4 separate regions of the Homo sapiens genome follow, and regions 1, 3 and 4 are each linked to region 2. Evidence: promoter capture Hi-C in 16 types of primary human blood cells and fetal thymus (Javierre and others, 2016). All regions are on one chromosome and are shown on one strand. Each heading gives the region's core, a stretch centred on a gene start or on the middle of the fragment in contact. The rest is flanking DNA. Distances are from core to core; before and after follow the strand shown.

Region 1 (5,293 bases), core at 122-2,621, 590 kb before region 2:
GAGGAGGAGGAGGAGGAGGAGGAGGAAGAAGAAGGAGGAGGAAGAAGAAGGAGGAGGAGGAGGAGAAAGAGAAGAAAAAGAAAGAAGGAAGAAAGAAGAAGAAGAAGGGCTGACATTGGAAGTGTCAGGCACTGCCGAAGTACTTCATTGGCTTTATCTCATTTCATTTGAGGTCAAGGTGGACTCTTGCTCTCCTAGTTTTCGAAAAGGAAAAAATCGAGGCCCAAGGAGATGAGGTCACTTGCTTAAGGCCACCCAGCTTAACCGCTGGTACTGGGATTCGAACATCACTACGTCAGACTCCACTGTCGCCAGTGAGTTTTCAGTGGAGATGGAACCAGCTGTTACAGATGAAACAGAAGCAGAATTAATCATAGTACGGGGGCTGGCTAGGAGGAGAAGGAAGGAGGAGGGCTCAGCCAGGGATGAAGTTGGGTTGAAGTTGGGTTGTAGAGTTGCCAAAGAAAATGCAAGCCATCCAGTCAAATCTGAATTTCAGATAAACAATGGATAATTTTTTTCATAAATATGTCCCCCACAATATTTGGTACAGCAAGAATGCTGGCCTCACTGCATCTGACTACTTTCACTCTCACTCCAGGACCAGCTTGTGGTCCACTCCTCCAGGCAGCCTGCCCTGATAGGCTCCCAACCCTTCAGGCTTCCCTGTGCAATATTTGGGACATGCTTATACTAAAACATTATTCAATGTTTATCTGAAATTCACATTTAACTGGGCATCCTGTATGATTTGCTAAGCCTGACAGCCTTGGGGACTTAGCAACTCCCATTATTGGGGGACATATCCTGATCACCAGATTCCCTTAATGAAGCTGTACCTGGCCTGCCCGACCCCAGTAACTAGCCCAGGCTTGTATCAAAGACCAATGAATTTTCAGACTTTATTTTTCTTCTGAAAGAACAGAGAAAACATTCTCTTGATACCTGCCAGGTAGCAGAGAGAGAACAAAGAAACACCCTACCAGTTCCTGCAAATCAATTGGTCTAAAAAATGCCCCACAGAAATAAAGAGGAAAAAAAGCAAACCACTTCAAATGCTTCTTTGACACAAATTCACGCTGTGACCAATGGCTTTATGCAGACTGTTAACAAACAGGTCAGGTTGGGGGAAAGCTCAGAGGACCCCAGCTTGGGTCCTTTTCCTTCTCAAAAACAGTAGGAAAATAAACAACTACTCTTCTGCTGATTCATACGGATATTTTGGGCCAAAGCTCATTAAATGAATGAGAAAAATCAGTGCTGAGGTAATTTCTCATCTCTTGCCTTCAAGGTGGAGGTCTGGGCTCCTCATGACCCCAGATCACGGGGTAAAGGGTATGAAAAAAGAACACACTGCTGAGTCCCCCAAGTAAAGAAGCTGCCCCCCTAGTATTTGGTTTAGCAAGAATGCCAGCCTCGTTGCATCTGTTCATTTCATTCTCATTCCAGCTTGTTTCATGCATGAGTTTTGAGAATGAAAGAAATTTCATTCTCATTCTCATGGCCAGCTCTTGGTCACCTCTTCCAAGCAGCCTCTCTGATATGCCCCCAACTCTCCAGGCTTGCCCATACAATATTTGGGACATACTTATAAGGTGACAAGTAGATTAGCCCCCAGAGTTCAAAGACGGGGCAGACACATCACCTCACCCAGTGCAGAAACAGACTCTACAACAGTGGTTCTCAAAGCGGGGTCCCTGGACCAGCAGCATCAGCATTGCTGTGAACTTGTGAGAAAGGCACATTCTCAGGCCTCACCCAGAGCTACTGAATTAGAAACTCTGCAGATAATACTCAGCACTGTGTAAGACAGACTGTGTGTGTGTGTGTGTGTGTGTGTGTGTGTGTGTGTGCGCGCGCCTGCACGCACACAGGCTTAGCAATTTTTTTTTCTTTTTTCTTTTTTTTTCTGAGACAGAGTCTCGCTCTGTCTCCCACGCTGGAGTGCAGTGGCACAATCTCTGCTCATTGCAACCTCCACCTCCTGGATTCAAGCAATTCTCCTGACTCAGCCTCCCAAGCAGCTGGAACTACAGGCATGTGCCACCACGCTCAGCTAATTTTTAGTATTTTTAGTAGAGATGGGGTTTCACCATGTTGGCCAGGCTGGTCTCAAACTCCTCACCTCAGGTGATCTGCCCACCTCGGCCTCCCAAAGTGCTGGGATTACAGGCGTGAGCCACCGCACTGGCTGAATTTCTTTAATGACCAATGATGTTGAGCATATTTTCATGTGCTTAGTTGCCATCCATTTACATTTTTTTTGTATGTTCCATATTTTGCCCATCTTTTTTGTTGGGTTGAGTTTTGAGAATTACTTTTATATTCTAGATAAAAATCCTTTATCAGATAAGTGATTTGCAAATATTTTCTCCCAGTCGGTGGCTTGCTTCTTCATACTAATAGTGACTTTAAGAGAGCAGATGCTGTTCCTTTTGATAAAGTTAATTTGTTCTCTTATGGACTGGGATTTTGATGTCTCATTTAAGAAATCTTTGCCCAGCTCAGGGTTACAGAGATTTTTCTCACCTTTCTTCTAGAAATTTTGTGGTTTGAAGTTTTGCAATTAGATCTGTGACTCATTTTTTGTTAATTTTAGTATATCATGTGAAATATGGATTTTTTTTTTTTTTGCACCAGGATATCCAATTATTCCAGCACTATTTGTTTCCCAGACATGTATATTTGAAAAGAGGCTTTGGAGTGGAAATTATCTACTTCCCTCCATCTGGTGAACTCCTATTCATCCTTCAAAACCCAGGCCAAATGTTCCCTTGGCTAAGAAGTCTTCCCTGGCAAAGTCCAAGTAGCTCTATCAGCTATCTTGTGGTGCCCGCAGCATTTCATGCAACCTCTGACATATTCTTATCTCACATGATTGCATTAATTTCCAAGTCTGTGTCTCCTGCTAAAGTGAAAATCCATGGATGAGGATCATACTCCTAGCACTCAGCAGGAACATACACCTAACACAACACAGGCCCAGCATAGGTGGTGATGAAGGTATTTGCGAGAGAAGGGAGAAAACAATGGTTAAAATAATTGAATAATAAAATATCAAACCAGTGAACCATTTGCTTTTTTAAGCAATGAAATACCTAACTCTCAGCCCCACTCATAGACTATATTCATCAGGAAACCATCGCTGAGTGCCCCTACCCAAGTTAACCACCACTAGTACTGACAAAGAGCACCCTATTGATTGATTTAGGCCAAGCCCTGTTCTAAGCACGTTATACACATCATGTCATTTCACCCTCACAACAACCCTATGAGGCAGATACTGCTACTATCATTACTGTACTGAAGAAGAGACAGACCTACCAGGAGGTTAAGGTCCATGCCTGAGGTTCACCTACGTAACAAGTGTCAGAGCTGGGGCTTGAACTAGACTGATTCCAGGGCCCTAATCCTACCTCTACGTATACTATGTCTGGTTTCCTTTATTTGTCTGAGTCTTCTTTACCCAATAAGCCGAGACCCTACAAAGGCAGTGCCAACTCTTCCACATGACCAACCCTTGCCAACTATGAACCCCAGTACCAAAAGAGACAAGTTGCACGGCGACTCATCACCCTCCCATCTAGCCCCAGACACAGACTCACATCCCACCCGTGAGGGACCTCCTCCTTACCTTGGACCACACGCCCATGCCAAAGGAGCTGCTATCTGCCATCTGGTGCAGGTTCAGCTCCGTCCTGGAAGCACAGAAGGAACCAGGAGTCAGGGGGGCTGTCCACACCAGCCCTGGCAGGGCAGGTGGTCGTCACAGTGTGAGGCTCCACACAACTGCCCGGACACCCCAGGGGCTGTCCCTGTCCCTGGCCTTGGCCCCACTAACTCTGCCCTGGGATATCTTCAATCTCCCAAATATTCCTCACGCACAGCCCTCACTTGGCCCTTCCTAAAGGCCAGGAAATCCCAGGAGAAAGGGTTGTAGAGGAAAATCAGGAGAGCAGGGACTAACCCCAGATCTTCTAATCAGCTGAGCGACCTCACTCAAGGATAATATTAAAACAGTCAACATGAACGAGCCCTTACTGCATGCTAAGTCCTAAGATGACTCATGACAGCCCCACTCCATGGGTACAAATATTATTTCCATTTTACAGTTGACAAAACAGAGGCACTGAGAGTGGGTACCTGCCCCAAGACTTCACAGCTAGCAAGCATGCAACCAGAAGCTGAGCTGAGGTCTGTTGGCCCCTCGAGCCCAGACTCCGCGCTATCCTGCCACGTGCACCTCTCCCGGCCTCAGTCTGCACTTTATGAAGCAACACAATGTTTAAGGCTCCTTCCCGTGTTCAACCTGCAGGTTCCTCGAGAGTGAGACCAGCAGATGGGCCACCCACTTTTGCAGGCTTGAGGAATGCAAGCCAAAGGCGGGGTGGGCACAGCTATGCCCCCTGCCCCTTCGAATCACACTCTCTACTCACAAAAGCATTGTAGAGCCCAGCCTAGGATCCCCAATCCCACGTTGGTTCAAATTGGTTCCTGGAAAGTGGGGATTACTCATCAGTCTCCAGCCAGCTTGTCTGGTTCTGAGGCCTTCAGTGTCCTCTCCCTGGATTCTCTACAGACCCCACACCCCTCTCTGCCTCGTGACTTTGAAGGAGTCTTACCAGCTAGGCTTCAAGTCCAACCCCAGTGCTGCCATGTGGCAGACAAGGTAATTCTCTTCTCTGCAACTCACTTTTTCTTATCTGTAAAATGGGCCCCCTACTCTACTTGCCTCCCAGGATTAAATGAGATATTATACATAAACTCACACTGCCAGGCTGGCATGGAGTAAGTGCTCTGTTTTCCTCACACTCTCTTCCATTCACTGGAAATTAAATCTGACAAATAATTAAGAAGCATCTACCTGGTGCCAAGCCCTGGGCTAGGTACTGGGAAAGCAGAAAGAACAATGACAGGGCCCCAATTCAAAGATCTCCCAGTCCATCTGGTGAGGAAGGGAGACTGCGCTGGCAGGTTTTTGAACCAGAAGCACATACCAGGCACCAAAACAGTATAAAGGAGAAACTGAGGAGCAAGAATCAGGCAGTGCTCCTCTAAAAAAGGGATCTGGAGTAGGGTTTTGAAGGATGAATAGGAGTTTCCCACATGAGTGCATGGGAGAAAGGACATTTGTGCAAGTGAGAACCCGTTTTTGACCTTTGGAAGCTTCCATATGGGTGACGGACCAAGTTGGCAGCAGCAGAGGTAGAGAAAGGGAAGTAATTGGGGGATCACCAATGAGGCTTCAGAATGACAATGACTCCCTGAGGGGGCTGAGTTGCTCCAAGCACTT
Region 2 (5,708 bases), core at 1,219-3,718:
CTGTATTTTCCTTAATAGGAAATTTCCCCCTTAAAAAAATGAAAACACCTGTTTGCAGTCTCGGGGAAGACCTCTGCCTGCCCCAAGCCTAGGAAGAGAAGGGCTGCAAAGGCAGACCAAGGTTTTGCCTCTCTCACCCACCTGGAAACACAAACTGACTTTGTAGAAGATCCCCAGGGAACATCTGTTCTAGTCATTTTACAGAAGGGATCAAAGAAGCTCAGAAAGGGTAAGATACTTGCCTCGGGCTGCACAGCAAGTTAAGAGGAGGCACTGGGATTCGACCCATCCTTAGACTCTGTCTGGAATAGTTTCCCAAAAAGACCCCGGAGATGGTTTGGAAAGGGCAGAGCCAACACATTCAAACCTTCTCTCAGATTTCTAGTGTGCCTCCCTCTGCTAGCTGGCTTCACTCATGTCTTTCAGCCTTTACACCAACTCTGGGCACAATATCTGGGCACCATCCTCATTTCAAACATGGGGCTGTTGAGGCCCAGAGAGCCTCCAAACCCTGTGCCCTTTTCCCCAGAGTGGGCAAGACACCAGGCTGAGGTCAGACAGGAGAGTCAGAGCTCAGAGCCGTTTCCAGAAACCCCCGGGCCTCTCTGATCCATTGGTGCAGGCAGGATGTGGGTGACCATTTCTGTTTTGCAGACGAGGGAAGATGCAGCAAAGTCATGAAGCAAGTTTCTAACGGGAGGGTGGCAGTGAGAGGACCCACCCGGAGCGTTTTGTCCTGGCCTGGGTGGTTGGAAGGATGGCTCTTCCTTCCTGCAGAGGTGCTGCTTGGCTGGGAAGATGACCCTGAGGCCCAGGAGTAGCCTGGGCCCTCTGACCCCCTCCCTGCCCAGTACCTTGTAGCTGCCCCCAAGGTCTCCATGGCTCTTGCCAGCTGCAGCCTGTTCGGGTGCTCCGTGCTGTTCCGCCATCTCCCCAGGAACACCTCTGGCTTCAAACCAAAAGAAAATGGTTCACTGGATCCACCCGGGAGAAGCCAGGTGTTGATGTGACTGGAGTCCAGGATGAGCTACAGAGCCTTGCTGCCCATGGGGCGTGGCTGTAACTTATGATCGACATTCAGTCATTCAGCAAACATCCATTGAGCACCTGCCATGGGCCACGTGGACTGAGACAGTGGGATCAGGAGCCCCATTGTACAGAGGGGAACTCTGAGGCTCAGCAAAGTGAGGCCACTTCCTCAAGCACACAGTGAGGAAGTGGCCTGGGTCGGGCCTGGCTCCAAAGCCCGTGCCCTTTTCCCCTGATCCAGATGCTCCCCGAAACCCAGGTTTCTCAGAGCTCTCTGCAGATGTCCCACCCCCAGAACCTGGCTAAAGGGTGGGCTTCAGGGAGTTTCCTCTACAGGGGTCTCTCCCACCTCCGTACTCCAGGAACTCTTTTGTTCACTGGTTACTTTATTCAACAAATATTCCATGAGCACCTACACAGTGCCAGGCTCTGGGCTGGGTGACCAGGAGGGACAGGAGACCCCATATGTCGGGAGGTGGACAGACAGACCTCTAGAGAAAAGGCTTGTAAGACCAGGTCGTTGGACACCTGCTCCAGGTCAGTTTCCCTGCGTTCGGTTACTCATTCCTTAAGCATTTATTGAACACGACTGTGTACCAGCCACTTCAAGACCCAGACACCGACAGTTCTTCATTGCTACAGGGACAGTGACACGCAATACAGGCCCCTGCCGCAGTCACATGGAAGGATTCTCATCATTGTTGCACCCATGGACACACACAGGACTGTTCTGTTTGTCAGCACACACACATAGGTGCACACACTCGCAAAAGTTTCTATGGTCACTATCAGTTATATTTCACCCATGGGCTCACAGGACAGCTTCTTTCTCTCTCTCTCTCTCTCTCCTCACACACACACATCCCTGCCCATTTCAGACATCCACAGTGGTAAACAAGGCACCTACATCTACACCCCACATCCAACTGTTACCCACCCACGGCTCCCAGCACGGCCACCCCAGCATGCACAGCTGCACAGCCCACATACTCTGGATGTGGGCCTAACCATGCACAGCCTGCGGGCTGTCGGTTCTGTCTCTCCTAGCCTCAGCAGGAAACAGGGCTTGGTCCAGCTCACAGGGGACTCTCGGGGGACTTGGCAGGTACCATGTGTGCCCACTCCCCTCCCTCAGAGGAGCTGTTTTGGAAGGTCCCCTGCCCTAAGCACATGTCCAGGGGCTTGGACCCTGGCCACTGCAGACAAGGGTCCCTCGTTCCACCCCCAGCTGGGCTGTCAGGGTCCTCTCACTGGGACCTGACCCTTAAGGGAGGCGCTGTTTTTCTTTGCAGGCGGTCAGCCATGCGCGTCCCACAGAAACTACAAAAGGTCCGGGCCTGCCAGGGTGGCTTTTGCCTCCCCACCCCCAACCCATCCCAGAATGAACCTGTTGCTGTAGCCTCGGGAAGAACAGAGGAGCCACGGCCGTCTGCAGACTCGCCTGTCTTCGCAAGGGGCATGCTATTTATGAGCACTTTCTGACAGCCCAGCACATCCCAGCCTGCTGAGGCAGCACCCTGTCCACCCAATTCCATCCAGGCCACTTCACTCCAATAGCGGGTCCACGGAGGCCCCCAGTGCCTGTCTCCTCAGCCACCGTCTCTGATGACTTCCTGGGGACAGATGAACCTCACTGGCTTTGTGGGAAGCCCAGCAGCGCCAGGCAAGGGGCACGGTGTGCAGCTCTCCCGTGTCTCCCCACAACCACCAACTCCCTTTCTTTGGTTTCTTGGGGTCACCATTTCCTATTGAGTCACACGCAACCTTTGGAAAAATTCTAGTTCTTAAAGTGAGGGACCCCAGACACTCTCCAGTTTCCATGTGCCATGTGGCCTAAGTTTTAAGTCAGATCACGCTAACCATACTCTCCAACTTGGGCGCAAATCCACCCAACCGTTTCCATAGGATGCCGTCACAGAACTCACAGACTGACTTTCTTCATGTAGAAGACACGCACGAATAATAGCTACCATTTCTTGAACACCTACTACACGCAAGGCATTGTGCCAGCTTCACAAGCATTGTATGGAATTCTCATCCAGCCATCCTTAGGGGAGGAATTCTGATTCCACTTTATACATGGAGAAACTGAGTTCAGAGAGGTGAACCCATTTACTCAGAATCACACAGCAGAGAGAAGGGGCTGGCCTGCTCCAGGACCTGGGATCTTAGCCTCAATAGAAATAAAAGTGACCATCACAGTCAACTTATTTATGACCAAAGAAAAAAGGTAGATCCAGGTATTTTTATTTTATTTTTTAGAGATAGGTTGTTGCTACATTGCCCAGGCTGGACTCAAACTCCTGGGCTCAAGCAATCCTTTCTCCTCAGTGTCCTGAATAACCGGAACTACAGGCACGTGCCACTGCACCCAGCTTCCAGGAATTTTTTAAGTGTCTAACAAAGTATAATTTTGCCTGTAATCAATATCTAATAAGTGATTATTTTATGAATAAAATTATATTGGAGCAAAGGAGTGAGTTAACAAGGTTTTCTTTTGTTGTTGTTGGTATTTGTTTTTGGCTAAAATCCTCAAGTCAGCATAAAACCCAGTTACAGGCCGGGCGCGGTGGCTCACGCCTGTAATCCCAACACTCTGGGAGGCCGAGGCAGGCGGATCACGAAGTCAGGAGCTCGAGACCATCCTGGCTAACACGGTGAAACCCTGTCTCTACTAAAAACACAAAAAATTAGCCAGGTGTGGTGGCGGGTGCCTGTAGTCCCAGCTACATGGGAGGCTGAGGCAGGAGAATGGTGTGAACCCAGGAGGCAGAGCTTGCAGTGAGCTGAGATCGCACCACTGCACTCCAGCCTGGGCAACAGAGCAAGACTCCGTCTCAAAAAACAAACAAACAAACAAAAACACAGTTACCCTGTACCCCCTAGAGGGAGATGGTGGTGAGATGCTGTGGATGACAGCTGGACTCTGAGTCAGGCAGATGTGTGTGACCTTGGACGAGTTCCTGAAGGTCTCAGAGCTACTGTCTCCTCACCATAAATGGAGAACCTTCTCTCCACTTGGGCCATTTTGGGAGGTCATGCAAGCAAAGCACTGCGCACAGTATCTGTTATTTTTGACTTTTATTCCCAGCATCCTGCCTACTCTGGACAGTTCAAGCCAAGGGGCTACTTCCTGCTGAAGGTCACAGAAAGCAGTCGGTTTGGACCCCCTGAGTTGGGATGTAGTTGCCACCAGCTGGGACAGAAGGAGGAAGGCAGAGGTGGGGATGGCGTGGCTCCCCCTCCCATCACATCTTTGAGGACCTTGCAGACCTACTGCACGCTCAGCACTTTGATGTACCACATCTCCCCAATCTAGACTTTTCAACCTTGACACTACTGCCATTTGGGGTCGGGTCATTCTTTGTGGTGGGGTCGGGGTGGGAGCTGTCCTGTGCACTGCAGGATGCTGAGCAGCATCCCTGGCCTCTACTCACTTCCTGGAGCATCTTCTCTCCTTCTTGTGATAACCAATAATGCCTCCTTTCATTACCAGACATGCTCTGGAGGGCACAATCCACCCAGCTGAGAACCACCACCTTAAACTGTTACCTGCAAAAATGTCCTGATCACCACTCCCATTGTATAGCTAAGGAGAACCAATGTTTAAAAGAAATCCCACAGCCAGAGGGTGGCAGGAGGAGGACTCAACCCCTTGTCAGTCTGAATGGAAATCCTGCCTTGTTTCCATGGCCTCCCATTCTGCATGGACACCCTCTCCCAGGACCCCAGCTCTGCCCTCTCGCTGGCTGGCCCACAGCTCAGCACAGGACAGACTGACTCAGCCAGCCCCAGTCAGGGCCTGCATGCATGGGAGACTCTATTCATTCACACATGGACGCACCGACTTCTCCAATGCAACTTGCACCAAAGCTTTATTTGCTATTTTCATAGTCTGAATGCAACATCTTTGTACATGCAAAGGTCATCTTGTTTTATTGCAGTCGACCAGATTTCCAACTGCTCTTCTGTGCATATGAAACTTCTTTACAGTTACAAAATATAAAAGCACTTGTAGACGTCCAATACTCTGTGAGGTCTGGTAAGCCCCATTTGTTTTTACATTAAAAATATAAGTTTTTCTAGATGACTTCTCAGTCACACGGTTAGAGATTCTTTCTGGGACTGGATAAAGTGCCTCTCGTCTGCCTTCCGTTCAGAACTCCTAGAGCTTGTGAATTCCTAAGGCAATTGCAAGAACACCGCAGGCAGGAAGCTTAACTTTCCTACACAAAGAACTCGAGCTCCTTTTCTATCGTGACTCAAAGATCTGAGGAAGGACCCAGAAGAAAGGTTAGGAAAATATATACTATACTTGTGTGTGTGTGTGTCTCTGTGTGTGTGTGTATATATATATATTTCCACGCCCTGCCCCATCTTACAAAGCATTTGGAGGATCACGATCATCTGGGAAGTGCATGACTTTAGGATATTGGTATGATTTAGGAAACAGCACAGTACAAAATTATCTTCCATAACACAATATATTACTTTTGTGACCCCCCCTATTTACAGGATCTATAAGGCTATGTGGAATGAGATTATTAAAAAGCTCAAATTCAGCTGGGCATGGTGGCTCAGGCCTGTAATCCCAGCACTTTGGGAGGCTGAGGCAGTAGAATCACTTGAGACCAAGTTTAAGACCAGCTTGGGCAATATAGTGAGATCCTGTTTCTACA
Region 3 (5,684 bases), core at 2,056-4,555, 570 kb before region 2:
CCTTCAGAGTGCGTACCAATGCCTGCATCTTTTGGCGCTTTTGCCTAAGTTCTGATGCCTCAATCCAGGATGGCCAATGAGGACCTGATTGCTATCTGGGTCTATAAAAATGTCCCTTCCAGGGATTTCCAGGGAGCCGGAGGAGTCCCTCGGCAATGTGGACAGCTCAGAGGCCTTGGGCTGCAGCAACAGAAGCCTAAGCACTCACCACAAGGACGGGAGAGGGCACGTGCCAAGCTCTGGCCCACCCAGAGCTTCTGAGGTCCTCCCAGGCCCTTGACCATGGACAGCGGTGGTGGGAGAGCCCCTGGGAGTGACTGAAGGTGTGGTGTGGGTCACTCTGGAGGAGAAAAATCTTGGAGAGAGGGGTACAGGCCCACTATATCCCCTTTAATGGATTTAGCATTGCCTCAGGGACTAGGGATGGATTTGTCCCACAGGGCCCCAAAGGGCAAGATGTGTTTTCACCCCCAGTTGGCAGAGGAGAACATGGAAACCAGAAGAGGTATCATGATCTTTCCTAGACACCAGGTGTCCTAGGGGCTTCTGACTTCCCAGTGAGTCTCCAGAAGAGCACACAGGTAAGATGTCTCACCTCCGACAGGCCTCCCTGCCTCCACTGAGCCTCTTCCCATCTGTCCTCCACCCAGCAGCCAAAGGCATCCTTTTACAACCTAAGTCACAGCATGTCATTGCTCTGCTAAAAACCCCAGTAGGGACTCTCTCTAAGCCTACTCTGGCTCAGGAGGCTGCCCAGTTCATAAAAAATAGATACAAATCGGCCAGGCGCAGTGGCTCATGCCTGTAATCCCAGCACTTTGGGAGGCCGAGGCGGGCGGATCACGAGCTCAGGAGATCGAGCCCATCCTGGCTAACACGGTGAAACCCCATCTCTACTAAAAATACAAAAAATTAGCTGGGCGTGGTGGCGGGTGCCTGTAGTCCCAGCTACTCGGGGGGCTGAGGCAGGAGAATGGCGTGAACCCGGGAGGCGGCGCTTGCAGTGAGCCGAGATCGTGCCACTGCACTCCAGCCTGGGCGACACAGAGAGACTCCGTCTCAAAAGTAAATAAATAAATAAATACCCATAGTAGCTGCCATCCCACTCAGAGTGAAAGCCAGAATCATCACCCTGAGAACTGACACGGCTCTGTCCTGGTTTTTCCCAACCTCTCCCACCTCTTCCTCCACTCATCTGCTCGGGCCACTCTTATCTTTATTGTTGATGGACTGTCTTTTCTTCCTAGAACAGCAACTCCACAAGGGGAGGGTTGCTCGCCTGGCACCTTCCCTGATGTTCTTTGTGCGTGGCCCGGTAGGAGACCCTCAATCAATAGCTCAATCACTATGGGTTGAAGGAATGAAGGGGCCCACGCTTCAATGACTCGGCTGAGGTGCCTCGTGCGTCCACAAGGTGGCGCTTAGAGATTTCCTTTGCTCTTGCCCATCTCAACAAAAATTGGCCGTTTCTACACTTCCGAGGAAAAAAACTAAAGTACAACTGAAGCTTCTGTTTCCCCGTTGATGTGGGTGCTCAGGACTCCTGAGAGTTCAGCATGGGATGAAGAGCACACAGGAGCCCTGTATCCTGGGTTTTCTCCCAGCAACTCTGCTCGCTAGACCTGAGAGTTTAGCCTGCGCCTGGCCCAGCCGGCTCTTCTCATCTGTAAAATGGGCTAATCACAGTACCTGTGTTTTCAGGTGGATATGTGAGACTCAACTGAGTTAATACAAGAAGGTGCATACAGCAGTGTCTGGTAGAGTTCACACTCATTCAGTATTTTCTTTCGTTACTCTTGTGATATTTAATGCTGCTGTTTCTGTCCTAATGGTGACTGATCTTTCCCTCCAGGGAATGGGGGAATCTCATGGTCCATGCCACAGGATGCCACAATGCCGCGAGAAGGATGCTGCTTGCAGACAGGTCGACTGGGGGCTCTGATGGTTCTACTGTCACCTCAGATGCAGAGGGATCCCCCCAGGCCCCCCTGCCCTCAGCCCCTCAGCCCTGCCCACAATGGTCCCACCTCACCTTCCCTGCAGAAGGCACCGAGGGCCCCCGGGGCTGGAGGACAATCAGATCAGGCCCTGTGCAGGTGTGCAGCAGCTGAGCTTTGTAGCGCTGCAGAAGCGTGTTCAGGACACTGGATTCGTTGACACTGATGAGAGAGGCCAGGTCCTCGACCTGGTCCAGCTCAGGAGGGTTGGCCTGTGAAACCATCACACAGAGTCTCCTCTGGCCTTCTGGCCTTCTGGCCCCCTGCCCCCACCCCACCCCCCCGCAACCAAACACACACTAAGCCCTCCTCTTGAGAGCTATGTGCCAAAGACCAGAACAGAGCACAGGGACTCTGGATGGAAAGCAATGAAGCCCTACAAATAAAATAGGGCCATCCCTTCTCCTTGCCCTCTGTGCAACCTATGAGGCACCCCCTCTTCGCTGTGGTCCTGCACTCCATGCACCATGAGGGGAGACGCTCCCAAGGCAGACTTGACAAAATTCAAAACACTTTCTGGATCTCAAACACCACAAAAAGACAGGTGATGCTCCAGTGTGTGCGAGCATCCGCTGCCATTTCCTCCTCTTCTGGGTCTTACGAGGAAGCTCTCAATATGCTCCATGATACCCAGGAGTGGAGGCCAATGGCCAAACCACCTCACTGGTCTCATAGCCCATCATGCATTGATTCCTAGGAAACCACCCAAACCCTTAGAAGCAAGGGTTATGTGAAGCTGCTTCTTAAAACATCTGTTCTAAGAGGCGTCCTATTATTCTCTCCAGCTTCAGTGAGTTTTCTGAACCTGGTAGTCTCAGGTTTGGGCCAAGCTTGAGCCCTCTCATGGATCAGCCTTTCTTGCAAGGCCACTGAGCCTCTGTAAATGCCCAACGCGGGAGAGAAAGCCTGAGGTGGGCAGAGGAGGAGCAGAAAGGAATGCAGATGAGCAAGGAGGAAAACTCCTAAGATAGCAGGCTGTGAGGGGCGGGGGGAAAGGGCATGACAGAACCTTTCTTTTCTATCACTACACTGGGACTTGTCCTCAAAAGGATTTATGGTGCACAACAAAAATGTATTCAAAGCAATTTAAAGAGCAAAGCTGAAAGAAAGTTTGATGCCAAAATATAGGCCATTAGAACCTATGCTATGGTTAATGGCAAGCAGCAAATTTGGCTCTGAGTTCCCTGGCGGCCAGAGTGAAAACAGAAACATGCTGTGTAGTATGATTTGCAATATCCAATATCTATAAATTAAAAGCAGTCATTTTCTTGGGTCCATCAGAAGAACTCCCAGGGCCAAGACCTGACAAACATGTTCTTTGATGTGTCCTCATTAAGGGAAACCACAGGAAAGGGTGAATGACCCCCTAATAGTACCCCTCCAGTAGAGCAATGAGTTCAGTGGGGTTCTTCACTATAACTCCCTCCAGGGCATCAAGCCAAAATGGTATTGGTAGTCAGGAACAAGGAAATCTCTTGCAGGACTGGGGAAGGAGGGTATGGAGCTGGGGTGAAGTGGGACAGGGGACTCATGCTGGGGGACGGCGGGACAGGGGACTCACCCGATGGACATGCTCCTCATCCACCTCAGTGATGGTTTTGTCAGCATCAATCCAAAGTCTCACCCTTCCTGCTGGCAGGTCTGCTGTTCCCTCATCTGGCTTTAGCACCGTAGCTGGTTGGACATCCCAGAGAGAGAAGGGGAACGGGGAGGAGATGGGAGGGGAAGAGGGGAAAGAGGCGAGGGCAGGAGATAAGAGAGGCTCTAAGCCGGGCCAGCAAGCTTGGGAGAAGGCTTGGGACAGGTCTCCATTTGGGGTCTATTCACTTGGAGCTGAGTTGTGACCCCAAATCCTTTAAGGTCAGGCTAAGTCTGACTCACCTTAGGCTTTTACCAGCTGTCACAGTGCCAGGCACAGAGCAGGCACCCAGACAGTTGGGTACACTGGCCTATCTCACACACAGACTGCCATTTCCCCCTCCAGTGCCCATGGCAGACATCACTAATCAACCACTCTTCCCAGCCATGTTCAGACTGAGACTCAGCATCACTTCTCAGTAGAGTGCAGTGATCAGCCACAACCAATCGACAAAAGTAGGCTCATGAGATCAAATCTATTGGCCCACTTGTACCAGACTCTGGCTTCCTCGAAGAACGCCGTAGGAAGAAAGCATGCTTGTTGCATTAGTGAGTTACAGTAGGTAAATAACTCATTATCAAGACACAAATGCCTTTGAAAGACAGTCTCCACTGCTCCTCTTCCCTCCTGACCACCAAAGTATAATCAGGACCTGGAACATATGGCTGGCAGCAGTAGGGGGCACAGGAGAAGACTCAGACCCTCCAAAGGTGCTAACACCCCTACTTACCAAGAGTAAATCCATCCTTCTGAGCCAGCCAGACTTTCTCTGCCTCATACCATCTGTCCTCAGGAGCCTGAGAACCAACATCACGTAAATTAAACCAGCAAATGGCACCGCTGCCCATCTTCTACCTTACACGGGGGTTTCTCACAGTGTGCTCTGGAGCCATCTAAACCAGAATCTCCTGGGGGAGAACAGGAGAGGGAGTGTGCTTATTTAAATGCAGATTCCCGTTGCGGACCCGGGAGGTGGAGCCGAGATCACACCACTGCACCATCTAGCCTGGGTGACAGAGCAAGACTCCGTCTCAAAAAAAAAAAAAATACTACATAAATGCAGATTCCTGGGCCCCACTCCTGGCCTTTGAAATGAGAGACTCCATGGCTGGCCCCAGGAATCTGCATTTTTAACAATCTACTCGTTATGCCATCCCGTTTGAAAGCTGTCGTGTGACATCATAAGCAAGCTCTACCATGTCAGCCGTGAGGAGACACCTCACACTTTGGGGACCTTCCCTCACTCTGTGGGGAATTCCCACCCCAGGGCAGGTGCAATGGAAACTTCAAGACTTCTGCTCATGGAGGAAGTGCTCGTCCCCTCCTCTGGGTGCCTTGCAGTTCCAGCCACCCCTCTCCAATTCCCTGCCCACCCCCCGTCCACCCCTTGTCCATCCCTGGGGCAGATCTTTCCCATCCCTGCATCTCTGGAGAGGCCTGTCTGCCGCTTCCCGCTCCCAGGGCCGCAGCCCCCTCACCTGGTCTGAGTCTCTGCTCTGGCCTCCTTTGCCCTCCTCCTGCGGGGCTGGCCCGTCTTGGTTCTCCTTCCGTATCCGAGGCCTTTCTGCATCCTTCTCCAGAGCAGGCTGGCTGGGTCCTTCCAGCTCTGTCTCCAGGGCACCAGCCCCATCACCTGCTCTTGAGCAGGGCTCCTCTGCTTCCTGCCCACGGCTTCCTGGCCAGCCTCCCTTCCCAGGAGCTGCTGGCGACTCCACCATTGTGCTCACCTCCTTTGGGGCTTCACAGCCCTTCTCTGTCTGACTCCGAGCTTCACCTGCGTTCCCGGACTTACCCTGGGGTTGCCCCATCTTTTCCTTCTTATCCCAGGACTCACCTGCCTTCCCAGTCGTGCTCCGAAGCTCACCTGCTTTCTCCCCCATTCTCAGATCGTCCCCCAACTCGCCCTGCACTTGGCTTGTCTTCTCCATCTGGGTCTGAGGCTCACCTGTCTTCTCTGCCTTACTTAAGAGCACCCCTTCTTTGTCCTTCTTATTCTGGGGACCGTCCCACTTACTCCTTCTTCCCAGGAAACCTCCCCACTTTCTCCC
Region 4 (5,842 bases), core at 1,140-3,639, 540 kb before region 2:
TGTGTTTTTAGTAGAGACGGGGTTTCACCGTGTTAGCCAGGATGGTCTCGATCTCCTGACCTCGTGATCTGCCCACCTCGGCCTCCCAAAGTGCTGGGATTAAAGGCGTGAGCCCCCGCGCCCGGCCACTTTGTTTAAATATTAAAGATATGCCACACACCACAGCAGCTGACCATGTGCTTCAAATGGGCCATTCAGACAGTTGTTTGTATCTAGCAGGACCCAGTGAAGGGCCATCTCCCCATAGCCTTGTAGGCTCACAGCCCCAGGTCCCTATCTTTTGGCAGCTGGAAGTGGTTCTGCTCAGTTTGGGGGCCCTCCATTCCCACCTCAAAATGCCATAGAAAGTCTTGATCTTACCCCTGGAGGAACACCTGCCCAATAAAATCTTTGCGATAGTTAGACCCTAATAAAGTGCTGTGCACGTTTTCCATGTTTGTGAAACATGGAAATTCCATGAGTTTTGACAGGGCAGGTGCTGAGCAACAGCCTTCTGTGGTTTTGTTAGCTCAAGTGAAAGGAAAAGCTCTTCTCCAATTTGGGTGGGCACCAGAACCACCTGTGAGGTTTAAAATCTGTGGATTTCTGGGCCCCTTCCCCCAAGACTGTTCAAAAGGTCTAGGATGAACCCAGGAATCTGCATTTTAAAACAGCCCCCCGCCTCCTGCCCCACATGAGTCTGATGGGTAGGTCGTCAACGACCGTCACTTCAAGAAAAACCTTCCTGGATGCTGAATCCTAGGAAAGATCCCAGAGGTGGTCTAGCCCAACCCCCTCAGGTTTTAGAAGGAGAAACTAAGTTCCGACTGGGGAGAGTACTCATCCAAGGTTACAGAGCCCACACCAGGATATTCAAGGTGACCAGGCCTGGAGGCAGGTGACATCAAATATTTGTTGATTGGTAACATGCAGCCCTTCAAAAGCCAGGAGACCAGGAGACTCCCTCTCCTCCTCCTCTTCCTCCTTCTCCTCCCTCCTCCACCCACTTGGCCTTTTCTTTTGGCCTTTTCCTTTGCTATTATTCTTCTCCTCCTTCTTCTCTTTCTCCTCCTGCTTTTTTCCTCCTCCTCCTTCTCTTCTTCTCCTTCTCCTCCTCCTCTTCCTTCTTTTCTCTCTCTCCTCTCCACTATTATTTTCTAGAACTCATCCATAGCCTAAGAGTATATAGACCCCTCTCTTTTCTGCTCCCAAGGTACACACTGGACATGGTACCCAGGCATAGGAGAATACAACTTAGGTCAGCAATGGATACAGCACCCAAGGCCACCATTATCCTTGTTGGAGTCTAGAAGCCCTAGTGGGACACTCAGCCTCCATGAGCTGGTGCACTGAATGAGGCAGCATCTTTTTGGACAGCCACAAAGTGAAAGTAACAGCCTCGTCGTATTCCAGGCCCTACAGGATAGAAGCCCAGATCCCCACACTTGCGGGTTGAGGCCAGACTGGACAGCTTGGAGCCGACTGGGAGCCGACTGGGCTCCCCATTCCGGGCCTCCCCACTCCTGGCCTCCTCCATGGAAAAGCTGCAGGAAGGCAGCAGCCCAGAGGCCTGTAGCTGGTGAGGTCTTCTCCTCTCCTGGGAGAGAGCTCCATGTCAAAGCATAGCCCCCTTCTGCCCCACTATGGGGCCACTGGGACCTGTGAATCTTCTTCATTCAGAGAAATGCCTGCTATCCGGGGTGCCAGATAAGACACCTTCCCTCAGACAGAGCTCAAGGAAGGTGGCATGAAATTGAAACCTTCAGCCATGAACTTCCATTGCCCTTCCCCCAACACTCATACATGCTTAATTTGCAGTTTAAAAAAGAACATTAAAATTAACATTTCGACTCAACAGCGTTGTTAACACGAAAGGGGAAGCCTGGCTCTTCCCCGACCATAACTGAACACCAGTGAAGCAGAAATTACTGGTAGTTGAGGAAAAATATAAACCCTGACGTCTGCGGGCAAAGATTCACAGTGGAGATTAACTCATGATTCTAAACACATTTTTAAAAATTATTAGCGAACAGCTGGGGCCTGAGGAGAGTGATTCTTACGAATGTCCATTTGCCCCAGCATTTTGTTCTCAAATCCTTCCACCGAAACACTCTTGTTTTCAAAGTGAGCAGCACGGGCAACAGGCAAAGGAATCAGGCCTCGGAAGCTCTCAACACCAGAAAGGCCTAAAATAGACCAAAAGACCGGAGGCCTGCCACCGCAGCCCCCAGCAGCGCATTCCGGAAAATTAAAACTCGCCGATCCGCTCGCAAGGTGCCCGTCTAAAACCCAGCCCAATAGTACCTTCTGCAAAGAGGACACAGATCACAGGAACCACGACTGTCTAAGACGTCTCCCCGGGTGGCCGCGAAGGGACCCCACCGAGCCGGGAAAGCAGGAGCGAAGGAGCACCCTCTCCACACACACCGACACACATCCCTTCCCCTTACTGCCCCTCCCCGACCCGTCCTCCCCCCACCCTCCTTCTGGGCCAATGTGATAGCAGCAGCTGAGTCGACCAGTCATTTCTAAAATTAGCTTGTGAGCTCCAGGTCTGGCCAGGAGACGGCAGCCCGGGGTGGCCGTTGACCAGGCAGCAGAGACCATGGACATATTTGGTGGCCCCTGAGCAGGGAAGGGGACAGCTCTGGACACAAGCACATGCTCTCTCGTCATCCCTGTCCCAGGGCAGGGCCACACACCCACACTCCCGCCTCTGCCCACACAGATAACCAGAGGTTGCAGGAACTGTTTGAGGAGGAGAGCTGGCCGGTTCTACATTCCAGGCAGACTCTGGAAGAAAATAACTTGAATGAATGCTGGTGCGTCGTGGTAAACAACCAGTGCATGTAAACATACCTTATGCTTAGGTAGTGGTTATCGCATGCCACACACCGAGGGCTTTCATGAACTCACTTAATGTTCCCTATGAGGTAGGGTTTTTCCCCAGCCCCACTTTACAAGTGGGGAAATTGAGACACAAAAAGTTAACCAACTTGCCCAAGGCCATGGAGAGCCAGAATTCAAACCCAGGCTGTGCGGGCCGTAGAGGAAACAGACACAACAGCAAACTAGGGGCTATAAAAAAGTGCTTTGGGCCTGGCACGGTGGCTCACGTCTGTAATCCCGGCACTTTGGGAAGCCGAGGTGGGCATATCACGAGGTCAGGAGATTGAGACCATCCTGGCTAACACAGTGAAACCCCGTCTCTACTAAAAATACAAAAACAAAATTAGCCGGGCGTGGTGGTGGGCGCCTGTAGTCCCAGCTACAGGCGGAGCTTGCAGTAAGCCGAGATCGCGCCACTGCACTCCAGCCTGGGTGACAGAGAGAGACTCCATCTCAAAAAAAAAAAAAAAAATCAGCTGGGTGGGGTAGTGGTTGTCTGTGATCCCAGCTACTTGGGAGGCTGAGGCAGGAGAATTGCTTGAACCCAGGAGGCGGAGGTTGCAATGAGCTAAGGTCACGCCACTGCACTCTAGCCTAGGCGATAAGAGACTCTATCTCAAAAAAACAACAACAAAAAAAGTGCTTTGTCCACTGCCTAAAAGGAGCAAAGTACAGACTTCAATAAATTGGATAAACCATGCAGGTCCATGCAGCTAGCAAAGGGTAGAGTCATGACTCAAATCCAAGTCTTTCTGGTTCCAAAGACCGCAATCAGCCCAGCATGATACTGCTCCTGTGAGAATTGTTTCAATAATTGCTATGTGGTGCTGCTCCTCTTTCCCCAGAGCTCATCGAGCAATATTTTCCCAAAGTACTCACTTCTGCCGAGGTCTTGAAAATTAGCATTCAATCAGAAGTTCATTGAAACACTAAGGGAAGGCTGCTTAGAAAATGGCAGTCTAGGCCGGGTATGGTGGCTCACACCTGTAATCCCAGCACTTTGGGAGGCTAAGGCGGGTGGATCATTTGAGGTCAGGAGTTTGAGACCAGCCTAGCCAACATGGTGAAACCCCACCTCTACTAAAAATACGAAAATTAGCTGGGCGTGGTGGCGGGCACCTGTAATCCCAGCAACTCGGGAGGCTGAGGCAGGAGAATAGCTGGAACCCAGGAGTCAGAGGTTGCAGTGAGCAGAGATGGCGCCATTGCACTCCAGCCTGGGCGACAAGAGCAAAACTACATTTTGAAAAAAAAAAGAAAAGAAAAGAAAGAAAAAGAAAATACAATATACATAATATACATGAGGTTGAGGAGGGGTCCCTGCGGCCCCCAGTGGAGAGTGGCATGGGACATTTAGGCCACACCAGGGGAAGAGTTTGGAGACAGGTCCCGGTGAGCTGTTTTCTCCAGGTTGTGCTAGATCATTTGACATTGAAACAAGAACCTCCCTTCTCCCGCCCCTTGCATCACAAGTCCTGAACCATTGGCTCCTGGGCTTTTCTGTCCTTGCTGTCTTTCCGACGCTGTTGGTCTGAAGTGGTAGAGTTGACATGCAGAAATGATTCTCTGGGCCCAGGGCTGGGACTCTCTATAGGCCATGACCTGCAGTGATGGTTCCGTTGACTTGAAGGGACCTCCGTTCCCCAAGGAGTCAACATGGCATGTGTTTGCTCCATTCACCTTGTTGGTACCTGTGGTGGGTGGATTTTTGCTACACAAGATGACCAAGTATTACCTTGAGCACACGGTGATTTAGGGCAGCCCTTATAAGCAAGATTTTGTCACCCAGCTGAGCATTTACTGTCCAGTCTCCAGGCTTCATTCCCCAGGCTGGGGGAAAAGACGAGAAGGTGGAGGCTTTCTTATCAAGGCATCCAGAGAACCGGCTGCTTTGGGCTCATCTGATCCAGTTGGCGTGGTGTCATGGAAAGAGTGGATCGTGGTGCTATTCTGTTGGGTGTCAGGACAGTTCAAGTGGCTGTGGGTTTGTCTGGGCAAAGACCAAGGGAATCATCACTTTACATACCTGCTGTGGGGTTGTTGTTCCTTTCCCCTGGAGATTTGGCCTCTCCTTAGGCTAAGGAGTTCTGGATCCACAAAACAGCCAAGGGATTGTGACATTTTATATGGACAATTGACTTCTATCTCTTGATCATCCCTAATTTTTTTTTTTGAGATGAAGTCTTGCTCTAGTCCTCCAGGCTGGAGTGCAATGGCACAATCTCTGCTCACTGCAACCTCTGCCTCCCAGGTTCAAGCGATTCTCCTGCCTCAGCCTCCTCAGTAGCTGGGATTACAGGCACCTGCCACCATGCCTGGCTAATTTTTGTATTTTTAGTAGAGACAGGGTTTCACCACGTTAGCCAGGCTGGTCTCAAACTCCTGACCTCAGGTGATCTGCCCACCTCAGCCTCCCAAAGTGCTGGGATTACAGGCGTGAGCCACTGCACCCGGCCCCTAATTTTTTTCTTTAAATGTTCTTAGAGTCTGGGTCTCACTCTGTCACCCAGGCTGGAATACAGTGGCCTGATCACGGTTCACTGAAGCCTCAAACTCCTTACCTCAAGTGATCCTTCCACCTTGGCCTCTCAAGTAGCTGGGACTGCAGACATACACCACACCACCCAGCTAATTTTTCTAAATTTTTGGTAGAGATGGGGTCTGGCTATGTTGCCCAGGCTGGTCTTGAACTCCTGGCCTCAAGTGATCCTCTCACCTCAGCATCCCAAAGCATTGGGATTACAGGCATGAGCCACCACACCCAGCCCATCCTTAATGTTTTTAATGGTACAAATGGAGTGGACCCTTTTTGGTGGCCCATCTATTCTGCCCTTAGAATGCTACATTCTGTTAATCGTCTCCATACGTCTTGTGAGCTGCTTCCACCTTGCCACTCACTAGGATGAGTGCTGCCACCTGATCTCTATCATTCCGGGGTCCTGTCATCTCCATTGCTATCGGGGAGCCGTGTGGG

What was found. The method cuts DNA at HindIII sites, captures the fragments that hold promoters and counts their contacts. A CHiCAGO score of 5 or more calls a contact.
Region 1: a contact is called between a fragment that was not itself captured here and the fragment with the promoter of CRYBB3 in region 2, in 2 of 17 cell types (M0 macrophages and M1 macrophages). The highest score is 7.8, in M0 macrophages.
Region 3: a contact is called between a fragment that was not itself captured here and the fragment with the promoter of CRYBB3 in region 2, in 2 of 17 cell types (M0 macrophages and M1 macrophages). The highest score is 12.2, in M0 macrophages.
Region 4: the fragment with the promoter of MYO18B here is called in contact with the fragment with the promoter of CRYBB3 in region 2 in 2 of 17 cell types (M0 macrophages and erythroblasts); the score reaches 9.3 in M0 macrophages.

What each region holds. Positions count from the first base shown.
Region 1 is chr22:25,783,833-25,789,125 of GRCh38, reverse strand. MYO18B (myosin XVIIIB) reads right to left here. Exons shown (of 44, transcript NM_032608.7): 11 at 3,635-3,698. Among named protein-coding and RNA genes, the nearest start is that of MYO18B, 44 kb to the right of the region's middle. The HindIII fragment of the contact is 7,595 bases long and covers 1-5,168 here.
Region 2 is chr22:25,196,618-25,202,325 of GRCh38, reverse strand. CRYBB3 (crystallin beta B3) reads right to left here and starts at 2,468. Exons shown (of 6, transcript NM_004076.5): 1 at 2,417-2,468; 2 at 855-949. The coding sequence starts at 929. KIAA1671 reads right to left here. Exons shown (of 13, transcript NM_001145206.2): 13 at 4,878-5,708. The HindIII fragment of the contact is 15,596 bases long and covers 1-4,904 here.
Region 3 is chr22:25,768,859-25,774,542 of GRCh38, reverse strand. It overlaps MYO18B (myosin XVIIIB), which reads right to left. Exons shown (of 44, transcript NM_032608.7): 4 at 5,115-5,684; 5 at 4,367-4,433; 6 at 3,559-3,671; 7 at 2,033-2,209. Among named protein-coding and RNA genes, the nearest start is that of MYO18B, 30 kb to the right of the region's middle. The HindIII fragment of the contact is 952 bases long and covers 2,830-3,781 here.
Region 4 is chr22:25,738,735-25,744,576 of GRCh38, reverse strand. MYO18B (myosin XVIIIB) reads right to left here and starts at 2,389. Exons shown (of 44, transcript NM_032608.7): 1 at 2,284-2,389. The HindIII fragment of the contact is 14,245 bases long and covers 1-5,842 here.